Regions from separate parts of the Homo sapiens genome. Here region 1 is linked to region 2. The links are contacts of gene promoters, found by promoter capture Hi-C in blood cells and fetal thymus (Javierre and others, 2016). All regions are on one chromosome and are shown on one strand. Each heading gives the region's core, a stretch centred on a gene start or on the middle of the fragment in contact. The rest is flanking DNA. Distances are from core to core; before and after follow the strand shown.

What was found. Contacts are between HindIII fragments. The CHiCAGO score rates a contact against its expected background, and 5 or more counts as called.
Region 1: a contact is called between a fragment that was not itself captured here and the fragment with the promoter of MYL3 in region 2, in 1 of 17 cell types (total B cells). The highest score is 5.2, in total B cells.

The regions. Positions count from the first base shown.
Region 1 is chr3:47,373,452-47,379,115 of GRCh38, forward strand. PTPN23-DT (PTPN23 divergent transcript) reads right to left here. Exons shown (of 1, transcript NR_185912.1): 1 at 5,641-5,664. Among named protein-coding and RNA genes, the nearest start is that of PTPN23, 4.7 kb to the right of the region's middle. The HindIII fragment of the contact is 9,184 bases long and covers 1-5,664 here.
Region 2 is chr3:46,861,014-46,866,062 of GRCh38, forward strand. MYL3 (myosin light chain 3) reads right to left here and starts at 2,431. Exons shown (of 7, transcript NM_000258.3): 1 at 2,249-2,431. The coding sequence starts at 2,377. The HindIII fragment of the contact is 15,359 bases long and covers 2,131-5,049 here.

The DNA of each region.
Region 1 (5,664 bases), core at 513-3,012, 510 kb after region 2:
TACACTTCTTTAGTATGCTAAAGAGGTTATGTCTATGTTTCTTTATACTTTAATCTAGAATAGTATTTCTTTGTGTTTCATAAGACTGACTTTTTGGAGATGATAGACCAGTTCTTTTATAGGATGTCCTTCAATTTGGGATTATCTAATGTTTCTTCGTGATTAGATTAAGGTAATGCGTTTTGGGTACTGTGTCCTCAGAGCATCATACCAGAAGGCACATGATCTAGATTTCTCTCATTGCTGGTGACATTAAACTTCATCACGTGAGTAAGATGAGGTCTACTAAGTTTCTCCATATAAAGCTACTGTTTTTCCCTTTGTGATTATTAAGTATCTAGGGGAGATACCATGGACTGTGTAATTACCCTATTAGTTTATTTCTCAAGTCTACTGGTTTTTATGTCCATTGATGATTTTTGTCGAATTATTAATATGGCTGCCAAATAGTGATTTTCTAATTTTATCCTTCCTCATACCTCATACATCTATTAGTTGGCTTTTGGTTGTTTGTTTGTTTTGTGACGGAGTCTCTCTTGTAGCCTAGGCTGGAGTGCAGTGGCACAATCTCAGCTCAGTGCAACCTCTGTCTCCCGTGTTCAAGTGATTCTCCTGCCTCAGCCTCCCAAGTAGCTGGGATTACAGGCGCCTGCGACCATGCCCGGCTAGTTTTTGTATTTTTAGTAGAGACGGGGTTTCACCATCTTGGCCAGGCTGGTCTTGAACTCCTGACCTTGTGATCCACCCACCTTGGCCTCCCAAAGTGCTGGGATTACAGGCGTGAGCCCCACTGTGCTTGGCCTGATTAGAACCTACTTAATCCAGTATGACCTCACCTTAATTTGATTATATCTACAAAGACCTTATTTCCAAATAAGGCCATATTCACAGATACTGGTGGGGGATGCCAAGGCTTCAATATATCTTTTAAGGGGAACAATTCAACCTGTAACAGACTCCAATTTGTTTTTTTGTTTTTTGTTTTTTTCATATGGATGACCAGTTAGCCTGCATCATTTATTCAGTAGCCATCCTTCCTCACTGGCCTGCAATACTACCTCTGAGTCCATTAAGTAGATGTGGATGCCTTGGGTCTATTTCTGGGTTTTCTGTTCAGTTCTGAGGGTCTAATGTTGCATTCCTGAACAAACACCCACACTGTCCCAATTACTCAGCTTTCTAGCAGGCCTAGATATCTGGTAAAACAAGTCTGCTCATTTTGTTTCTCTTCAAGACTGTCTAGTGGCTGGGCACAGTAGCTCATGTCTATAATCCCAGTACTTTGGGAAGCTAAGGCAGGAGGATTACTGAAGGCCAGAGTTTGAGAACAGCCTGGGCAACATAGCAAGACCCTTCTCCATAAAAAATTTAAAAATTAGCCAGGCATGGTGGCACACACCTGTAGTCCTAGCTACTTAGGAGGCTGAGACCAGTGGAGTACTTCAGCCTAGGAGTTTCAGGCTGCAGTGAGCTAGGATCATGCCACTGCACTCCAGCCTGGGCAACAGACCAAGACCTTGTCTCTCAAAAAAATAAAAAAAAAAAGAGAGATAGATTGTCTAGGCTCTTCTGCGGTCTTTGCTTTTCCATATAAATTTGAAAAACAGTATGCCAACTTTCTCACAAAAAAACTTGGGAGTTTGGCAGGAATTGCACTGAGCCTATGGATCACATCTCCTCTTCCAGGTTCCAGGAAACCTTCCCTCCTCACTAGCCCCATTAGGCTCTCTGTCCCCTCTGGTTTCACACTATCCCCACCCCATTCTGTGGGGGTGATCTGGCCCCCTTGACTGGCCTGAATACCGCAAACCACAAGGGTATGTTCCTTTCAAAAGTCTCCTTCATGTCTCTTGCGTGTGTCCAGACCAAGATCTGACTATGACGACCCTGAAAGCTAGATCTGAGTGACACAGTCCTCCTGTCTCCACTCTCCCCTCTACAGAGCCCAGAGTGTTGTCTTAGGAATCCTTGGTAGGGCTCTTCCTCTAATCCCCTACTCAGTCTATGTAACCCTTAAACAAACTTAGGCCAGATCATATCCCTAGGTCTATTCAAACCCTCCCCATGGTTCCCCAGCTTGTCCAAAGAAAACCCACGTCCTCATCATGGTCTTCGAGACCCAACTCCATCTGCAACCACCCCACTCCATCTGCAACCCCTCACCTCACCCCTCCTCATTGCCTCTGTGACTCCATCTCCTCTATTCTACACACTCACTCGACCGCAGACACTCTGGCCTCCCTGCTGTTCTTCAGGTATGCCAGACACAGTCCTGGTTCAAGAACTTTGCATTTGCTGTTCCCCCTTTCTGAAACATACTTCCCCTAGTTATGCCCTGTCTTGCTCCTTCACTTCGTTCAGATCTCCGCTCAAATAGTATCTTCTCAGTGAAGCCTCCCCTGACCACCCAATATAAAATTGCATTGTCCCCTACCTATACTCCCACCTTCCTCTCCGTTTGATTTTCTTCCAACCACAACAGTTGTTGCCATCTAACATACTGTCTATTCTTTATTGTGTTAATGTCTATGTCCCTCCCTAAAATGGGACCTCATGTGGGCAGAGCTCTTTACCTGTTTTGATCAACAGCACCTAGAACAAATGTCTAGGACACTGTGGGTGTTGAATAAATATTTGTTGAATAAAAGAACTGAGAGAGATGAGACTCATGCCCAGCCCAGACTCTTTTTTTTTTTTTTTTTTTTTTTTTTTTGAGACAGAGTCTCGCTCTGTCCCCAGTCTGGAGTGCAGTGGCATGATCTCAGCTCACTGCAACCTCTGCCTCCCGGGTACAAGCGATTCCCCTGCCTCAGCCTCCCAAGTAGCTGGGATTACAGGTGCCCGCCACCATGCCTGGCTAATGTTTGTATTTTTTAGTAGAGATGGAGTTTCACCATGTTGGCAAAGCTGATCTTGAACTCCTGACCTCAGGTGATCTGTTTGCCTCTGCCTCTGCCTCCCAAAGTGCAGCCCAGACTCATGTATATTCACTTGTTGAGACTTTGGGTGGTCCCCTCCCCAGTCCAGGCCTGGGTTTCTACATTGGTAAAATGGGGAAGGGTGTGTGTGTTTTTAAGGGCCCATCCAACTCTGCTGGGTGTGATGGGGAGGCTGTCTTGAGAAAAGGGTGTGCTGCCCCCTCGTGATGAGGCAGACTCTTCCCCAGGACCATCAAGTCTTAGGCTTCTAACTCCCAACCCTGCCTGGAAATACATGTTAGGAGGGCACTCCCTGCCCCGGAGTCACCCTTTCTGCTGTCTCACCTCCACCAACCCATCCCCGCCCTCAGCATTCAAGGCCTGTGAAGGTCCTCTTGGTCTTTGATGCCTTTCACACCAATTGCCCTTCATGTCACTGTGACCCTGTGTTATGGGCTAAATGTGCCCCCTCCATTACTCCTCATTTCATGTTTGAAGTCCTAACCTCCAGTACCTCAGAATGTGACTGAGTTTAAAGGCAGGGTCACCAGGCCCAGGGATAAGATGGCCATTAACAAGCCAAAGAGAGAGGCCTCAGAAGAAACCAACTCTACTAATACCTTATCTCAGACCTCTAGCCTCCAGAACTGTGAGGAAATACATTTCTGCTTAACCTACTCAGTATGTGGTACTTTCCTATGGCCACTCTAGCAAATGAATACACCCTGGAACTCACAGAATACTTTATTTCTTTTGTTGTAGTTCAACTCCAGAAGCACCATGTGGGGACAAGGTGTTCCCATTCCACCTCGGGAGTAGAGGCCAGGGGAAGGAAAGGCAGTAGGGCCAAAGCTATCACTGTAGGAAGCTCATGAGATAGGGACCCATCTGCCCAGCTCTCCTGAATCCTGGAGCCTCGCCAGAGCTCCCTCTTGCATCTGCAATTCCACCTGCCTGGAATGCCCATCTCTATAGGTCTTCTCTGTCTTGCAAGGCCCAATTTAGGGCTTCCTACTTCTCCCCTTCCTCTCTCACTTCCTGTTCCAGCCCATACTGAACTGCAACAGCTTAATCCTGACCCCTTGCTGGCCTCAAGTTTGGGTCCTGGGCTGTCTGTGTCCTGTGGCCAAGCAGCCGCCTGCTTCTTTGCTCAGTAATGCTATGATGTAGTCTCCCAATTCCCAGCCTGCTCTGGACTCAGCTGTTGTGCCTAGGTCTTGCAGCTCCCTCATGGCTGACCACTGCCTCACCATCAGAAAGCCCCAAGGTAGGCTGCTTTATGCTTTTGTATTTTACTTACTACAAATTGTGTTCGGGCAGTTTTGCAGGTTGTAGGCCTTCCCATACTTTCTTTCTTGTGTTTGTTTTGAGACAGAGTCTTGCTCTGTCACCCAGGCTGGAGTGCAGTCGTGCAATCTTGGCTCACTGCAACCTCCACCTCCCAGGTTCAAGCGATTGTCTTGCCTCAGCCTCCCTAGTAGCTGGGACTACAGCCACACGCCACCACACCCAGCTAATTTTTGTATTTTTAGTAGAGGTGGAGTTTCACTATATTAGCCAGGTTGGTCTTGAACTCCTGACCTCAAGTGATCCGCCCGCCTTGGCCTCCAAAAGTGCTGGGATTACAGGCGTGAGCCACCATGCCCAGCTTTGCCCAAAATTTCTCTATCTCTGTCCAGGTGACCTCAAGATGGTCTTCCAGGCTGGGCGCAGTGGCTCTTGTCTGTAATCCCAGCACTTTGGGAGGCTGAGACAGGCAGATTGCTTGAGCCTAGGAGTTCAAGACCAGCCTGGGCAACATGGCAAAAACCCATCTCTACAAAAAATACAAGAAAAAATTAGCCAGGCCTGGTGGCACACGCCTGTACTCCAGCCACTAGGGAGGCTGAGGTTGGAGAATTGAGTGAGCTCAGGAGGCCAAGGCTGCAGTGAGCCGACATCACACCATTGCACTCTGGCCTGGGCAAACAGAGCAAGACTCTGTCTCAAAGAAAAAAAAGTCTTCCAGAAACAAGCTCTTCTAAGATGCTGGAAGAACTGGCAAAATTTTTCTTTCTCTTTAAATAAATTATTTGCAAGGTCTTATATTTTATTTTTTTTAAACTGTGGTAAAATATACCTAACAAAGTTTACAATTTTTCTTTTTTTTTTTTGAGACAGAGTTTCGCTCTTTGTTGCCCAGGCTGGAGTGCAATGGCACAAATCTTGGCTCACCGCGACCTCCGCTTCCCGGGTTCAGCGATTCTCCTGCCTCAGCCTCCCGAGTAGCTGGGATTACAGGCATGCACCATCAGGCCCGGCTAATTTTGCATTTTTAGTAGAGATGGGGTTTCTCCCTGTTGGTCAGGCTGGTCTTGAACTCCCAAATCAGGCGATCCACTCGCCTTGGCCTCCCAAAGTGCTGGAATTACAGGTGTGAGCTACCGTGCCCAGCCACAAAGTTTACAATTTCAAGCATACAGTTCAGTGGCATTAAATTGTTCAGATTGTTATACAGCCATTAAACAGTAACTCTCCATTCTCCCCTCCCCTAGCCCAACAGACACCATTCTACTTTCTGTCTCCATAACTCTGACTAACTAGGTATCTCAGATAAGCAGAATACAGTATTTGTCCTTTTGCAACTGGCTTATTTCACTTAGCATAATGTCTTCAGGGTTCATTCATGTTGCAGCATGTAACAGAATTTCATTCCTTTTTAAGGCTGAATAATATTCCATTGTATGTACACACATCATCTTTATTC
Region 2 (5,049 bases), core at 1,181-3,680:
TGCCCGGCTTAAAAGGTGGGGCCACACCTCCTCCTGGGCACTCGGTGGCCAGCCCAGAATGTCAACTGTCTCAGCCTGTCCCATTCCAGCATCCCAGCCTGCACCCCCAGGACCTCCTGCAGTCCATCTTGACGCCCTCCTGCCTCCTTGCCCCCCTCCACCTCTCCAGCCAGAAGGCCTTGAGGCTGTGTGCACCGAGGCCCTGATGCTCGGTGGACCCTGGCAGGGGTAGCAGTGAGGAGGGAGGCCACATGCCCAAGGCCTCAGGCCAGCGTGGGCCTTACCTGATGCTCCCGGTTCTGGACAGATGTACCTTAAGCCACAAGCCCCAGTCAGGCTGGCTTTGCTTGGGGCCTGGTGGGCAGGACTGTCAGCAAAAGTGAGATGGGAGGGCCCAGGGTGGTAGAAGGAGTAAGGGCAATGGTACAGGCCGAGGGCTGGTGGCTGGAAGCATCGAGGGTGAGCACAAGTGTGCATGTTTGTGTGTGAGCATGTGTCTACATACGTCTGCCCTCACAGAGCCCCCTAAGCCCTAAAGACCAGGCAGTCACTCACCAGCCCCACTATACCTATTTCTCACACACCCTGTCCGTAGGTCCCTGGGAAGCTCCCACACCCCAGGACAGCACAGGGCCAGGGCAGTGCTGCTGAGTGTTTGCTGAAGTCACATTGGGGCCACCTTGATTGACGTCAATCAAGAGGCCTCCCGGGATCCAGTGTCCCCCTCCTCACCGGATACCAGGTCTATTTTTATCACTGCAGTCACTCGCCCCAAGGTCAAGGTCACACAAGGGAAAGGAGGTTGGGGGAGGGGCATGACTGGCGTCTCTCTCATGGCTGCTGCCACGGAGCCCCACCAATCTCCACAGTGCATGCCGGCACAGAGGGACACCCTGTTCAGGGCCACCCTACCATGACTGTCCCTCCTGGCTTCTGGCTTGACCCAGTGTTGGGAAGAACAGGTTGTCATTCCTGGCTCCCTGAGAGCTCTCTCCACCAGGAAGCCTACTGAGATTAGGGTCTCTGGGCTCCTGGCAAAGGCTCCCTGCCCTTTACCTGCAACCTGGGGATGGGGGAAGAGGGCGCATGAGGGGTCTCATTGTCCCCACCTCTCAGAAGGAAGTCTGTGCCAACCTAAGGCCTGGCGAGAAAGGACAATGCCACTATGGGCCGTGGCTGTGGTCACAGCCTCACCATGAGGCCTGCAGAATGCAAGCCTGGGACCTGGGTGGCCAACTCCAGGTGCATATACTCTGAATGGTTCCCAGCAGCCCTGCAAGAGGGGACTTGCTGTTCTGTTTCACAGCTGAGGAAACCACGCCTCAGAGCAGCGAAGAACTTGGCAACTAAAATGGAGCAGAGTTGGGATTTGAACCCTTGCCTCAAAGGACATGGTAGGTGTCTCTGGGAAGGGCTCATGAACAGGAGGCAAGACTTCACCGATGGAATGTAGGTCCTGCTGGGCATGCAGGGATGGCGAGGGTTCCACAGGGCTCCTGAGGAGGCAGCCAGGGCAGCAGTGGTCCCAGCCAAGAACAGGGAGCAGGCAGGACACAGGGTACGTGCTGCTATGCAGATACCACAGGTGGGAGTCATGGCTCCCTCCAAGTTTAGACTCTGAGAAAGACTTTGCAGTTGGGGAAGGGCTCCTGGGGCCACTGGTCATAGCTCCATGACCAGCTTCCTGCACAGCTTTCAGAATGTCCCCAGCCAGCTGATGCTTCAAGTTCCCTACCTAAAAGCTGAGGCCTGGAAGTGCTCTACCAGCTCTGGGCTCGGTGATTTGAACGAGACCCAGCCTGGACAGGGGCCCTGCTTCTTCTTACTCCCTATCTCATCCACGCTGGGAGCGTGTATGGACTTGGGACCCCTCAGCTGAACAAGGAAAATCCCTGCCTGGCTCCAGCTGACTCCAGGATTCCCCAAGGATGAGAAGTCCAGGAAGAAGGGCAAGGGAGAGTCCATTTCCAAAACCACTAAAAAGACAGTCCAGACTCAAACCCCAGTCTAGACTCCACCTTAGTTCTCAGCAGCACCAGAGGAGTCCTGCAGAACGTCTGACCACCATCCCTCCTGCTGCAGCCCTTCTGATGCCTGAAGCAGTCAGGGCTTGTCTGACCTCTGCACAGAAGCTTCCAGCGTCAGCTCAGTGCTCACCTCCAGAGCCTGACCTGCCTCTTGCTAGGTCCACTCTGGGATCCACTCACTTGCCCTGCTCCTATTGCCACCACCCAGCTTCCATACCCACCTTGATCTTGGAAGCATCAAACTCGACCTCCTTAGGGCGCTCAGGCTCAGGGGGAGGTGCGGGAGCTGGAGCTGCCTTGGGGGCTGCCTTGGCATCATCCTTCTTGGGCTCTGGCTTTTTGGGGGCCATTGGGGGCTGTAAGTACAGAGAGGGATGTGGAGAGAAGAATGCAGAAAGCAGGGTAGGTGAGCCGCCTCACCCAGGCCTTTATCCTGCCCGGATACCTCATGACCCCAGCCCCACCCCTGCAGTGCACAATAGGGACAGGGCCATAAAAGGATATGGCTAGGCTTAGGGGCTATTTTGGGGCCTGGGGAGGGCATTGTTCAGGCTCAGGAATGGGTAGTGGAGGAGGGATCTCCATTCCTCCCAATCACCTGTTGGGAAGGGGGAGGGAGAGAGGGGGACAAAGGCCACTGCTTAACACACACATACACACATACACACACACTCATCTGCACACCCGCACATACCCACACAGGGCCCTGCTGCCTCTCTGCAGGTCCGTAAGTTGAAGAGGTGAAGAAGGGTGGACCAAGTACATGCTACGTGTTGTGTTGGGGCCAGAAGGACTGGGATGATCTAAGGGCACCTCTGAACTTAAGCTCTCCAAAGTCCCCTGTGTCTGTGTCTGTGTCTATGACCGTGTCCATGTGGGGGAAGGCGGAAGTCAGCATGTGTCTGTGTGTGTTGTCTGTGTCTGTGTCGGGGTGTCTATGTGTCTGTGGGTCTCTCTGTGTCTGTGTTTGTGTGGAGGGGGGTCTGTGTACACCTGTGTGTATTGTCTGGGTGCCTCCGTGGTGGGGGGCTCTGTGCGTGCCTATGTGTGCTCCGTATCTGTGTCTATGTAAGGGATGGCCCGGGTGTCTGCATTTGTCTCTGTGGGTCTGGGTCTTTATGTGTGCGTGGTGTGTCTATGTGTCTATGTGAGTGTGTCTGCGGGTGTTGCTTCTGTGTGTTTATGTCTGGGTGTTTACATGTGTCTGTATGTGAGTGTCTGGTCATGGCAGGCAGCTGTAGCCCTGGCTATGGGTCCAAGGGTCTCCAGGAACCCCCACAAAGGGCAAGAGAAAGGATGCTGCTCCCTCTAGGGCAGTCGCCCCAGGCCAGTTCAGCAGCCTCCCTCTTCAGCCCCTGCTGGCCCAGGGACCAGTTTCTCAGCTTTCACCCCTAGATTCCTACTTCCCCTCTCTACAGGCCCCAGGGATGCACATTTCCCTACACACCCCAGGCCTGGCTCCCCACTGCACCCTCTGCCCAGAGTGCCCTCGCCCCCTCTGCCTGACATATTCAAGGCTTGGCTCTACTGGCCCTCTTCCAGAAAGCTCTCTCCAATGCTATTCCACTGCCACATGTTGCCCTCTGCCGACCCTTTTGGCAGGGGCTCTGAGAGGGTCTGCCTCTCTGAGGAACCCCAAGCTGCCAAGCAGGGTCTGCCCCAGTGCAGTGATGCTCATTCCCTGTTCCTACCACTCAGTGCCCACCCCCAGTGCCCATCCTGCAGTGCCCGGCCCCCAGGGTCCATCCCAAGCCCAGCCTTCAGCAGATGACAGTGACAGAGTACAGCCTGACGGGACTGCCACTTGGGGAGGTGGGAGGGCTGAGGTGGCACAAGGCTCTTCCCGCATGGGGACGCCAACAGTGGGGACATCTTGTAAACACATTGGGCTCTGTTCCTTGCCCAGCATCTGTGCCTGGGGGGTGGGAAGGAGGTGCTCCTGGTTACTTTTAAGTGCCTGGAGCCTTTGATAGAAACTTCAAAGCCAGGGATTTCCCTGGTGTGGCAAGGGGCTAAGCCTGAGGCTGAGAGGTGCTGTGGGGCCCAGGGCCTCTACCTGGCACGCCCTGCTGTCTTCCTACTGGGCCCAGTCCCTCTCATCCTGTCACTCCGCCTCACAGGGAGGGACAGCAGTCCAGGGCTGGGGCCAGCCCGCTCCTGACTGGAACACGTTCTGCCTCTCATCTGGAGGGCAGAACACCCACATCTGGAAATCTGACAACATCCGGGACTGGCGGGGGGGCAAGTTTTTCACTTTTCTTCCAAATGTTTGGCAACAGTATTGAGAAAGAAAGGGGTGGGGGGATGGTCAGTGGAGACGAGCCAGAAATACCACAAGAGGAGAAGACAGCCAGAGGGCCACACAGAGGGGCCCCGGGGAGGCCCCACCACCCAGGCCTGCCGACCCTCAGGACAACGGGCTCTGGAAGTCACACGGGAGCCCCAGCCACCCACAGACACCGCCAACAAGACCAATTTCCTTGTGTTCATCATGAGGGAAGCAGAGGGCCAGAGCAGAGGACATATACAGGGCCCTCTCTCCCATCTCATTTCTTTCATCCTCACACAATTACCACCCCTTGGAAACCACCCAACGTTGGCCCAAATGGGGGTAAGCCAGTGACAAGAGCATCCTGGGCCTCAGTGTCCAGGTCTGTGATCTGGGATGGGCAGGCTCATGCAGCCAGCCAGAGCCACATAGTGCCACCTTCCTCCACCTGTGTGTGGCAGAGTCAAGGCAGTGGCTTGGGCCCCTCCTGTCACACACAGGGCAAACGTGGTCCTGCAGCAGGGACAGGGTGCACAGAGCCATCCTCACTCCCTCATCAGGACCCAGATGAAGGCTAGGGCCAGGATGGTGACTGCCTGAGCTCTGATTCTGGGCATGTCCCTGCTGGCTTGGGAACAACAGTGCCCCAGGACTCACCCACAGGCCCACCCTCAAACCTATAACAACTGCCTAGCCCCCAGTAGGCACTCTTCAGGACCAGCCAGAGCCCTCCCAGGCACACCGAGACCAGGA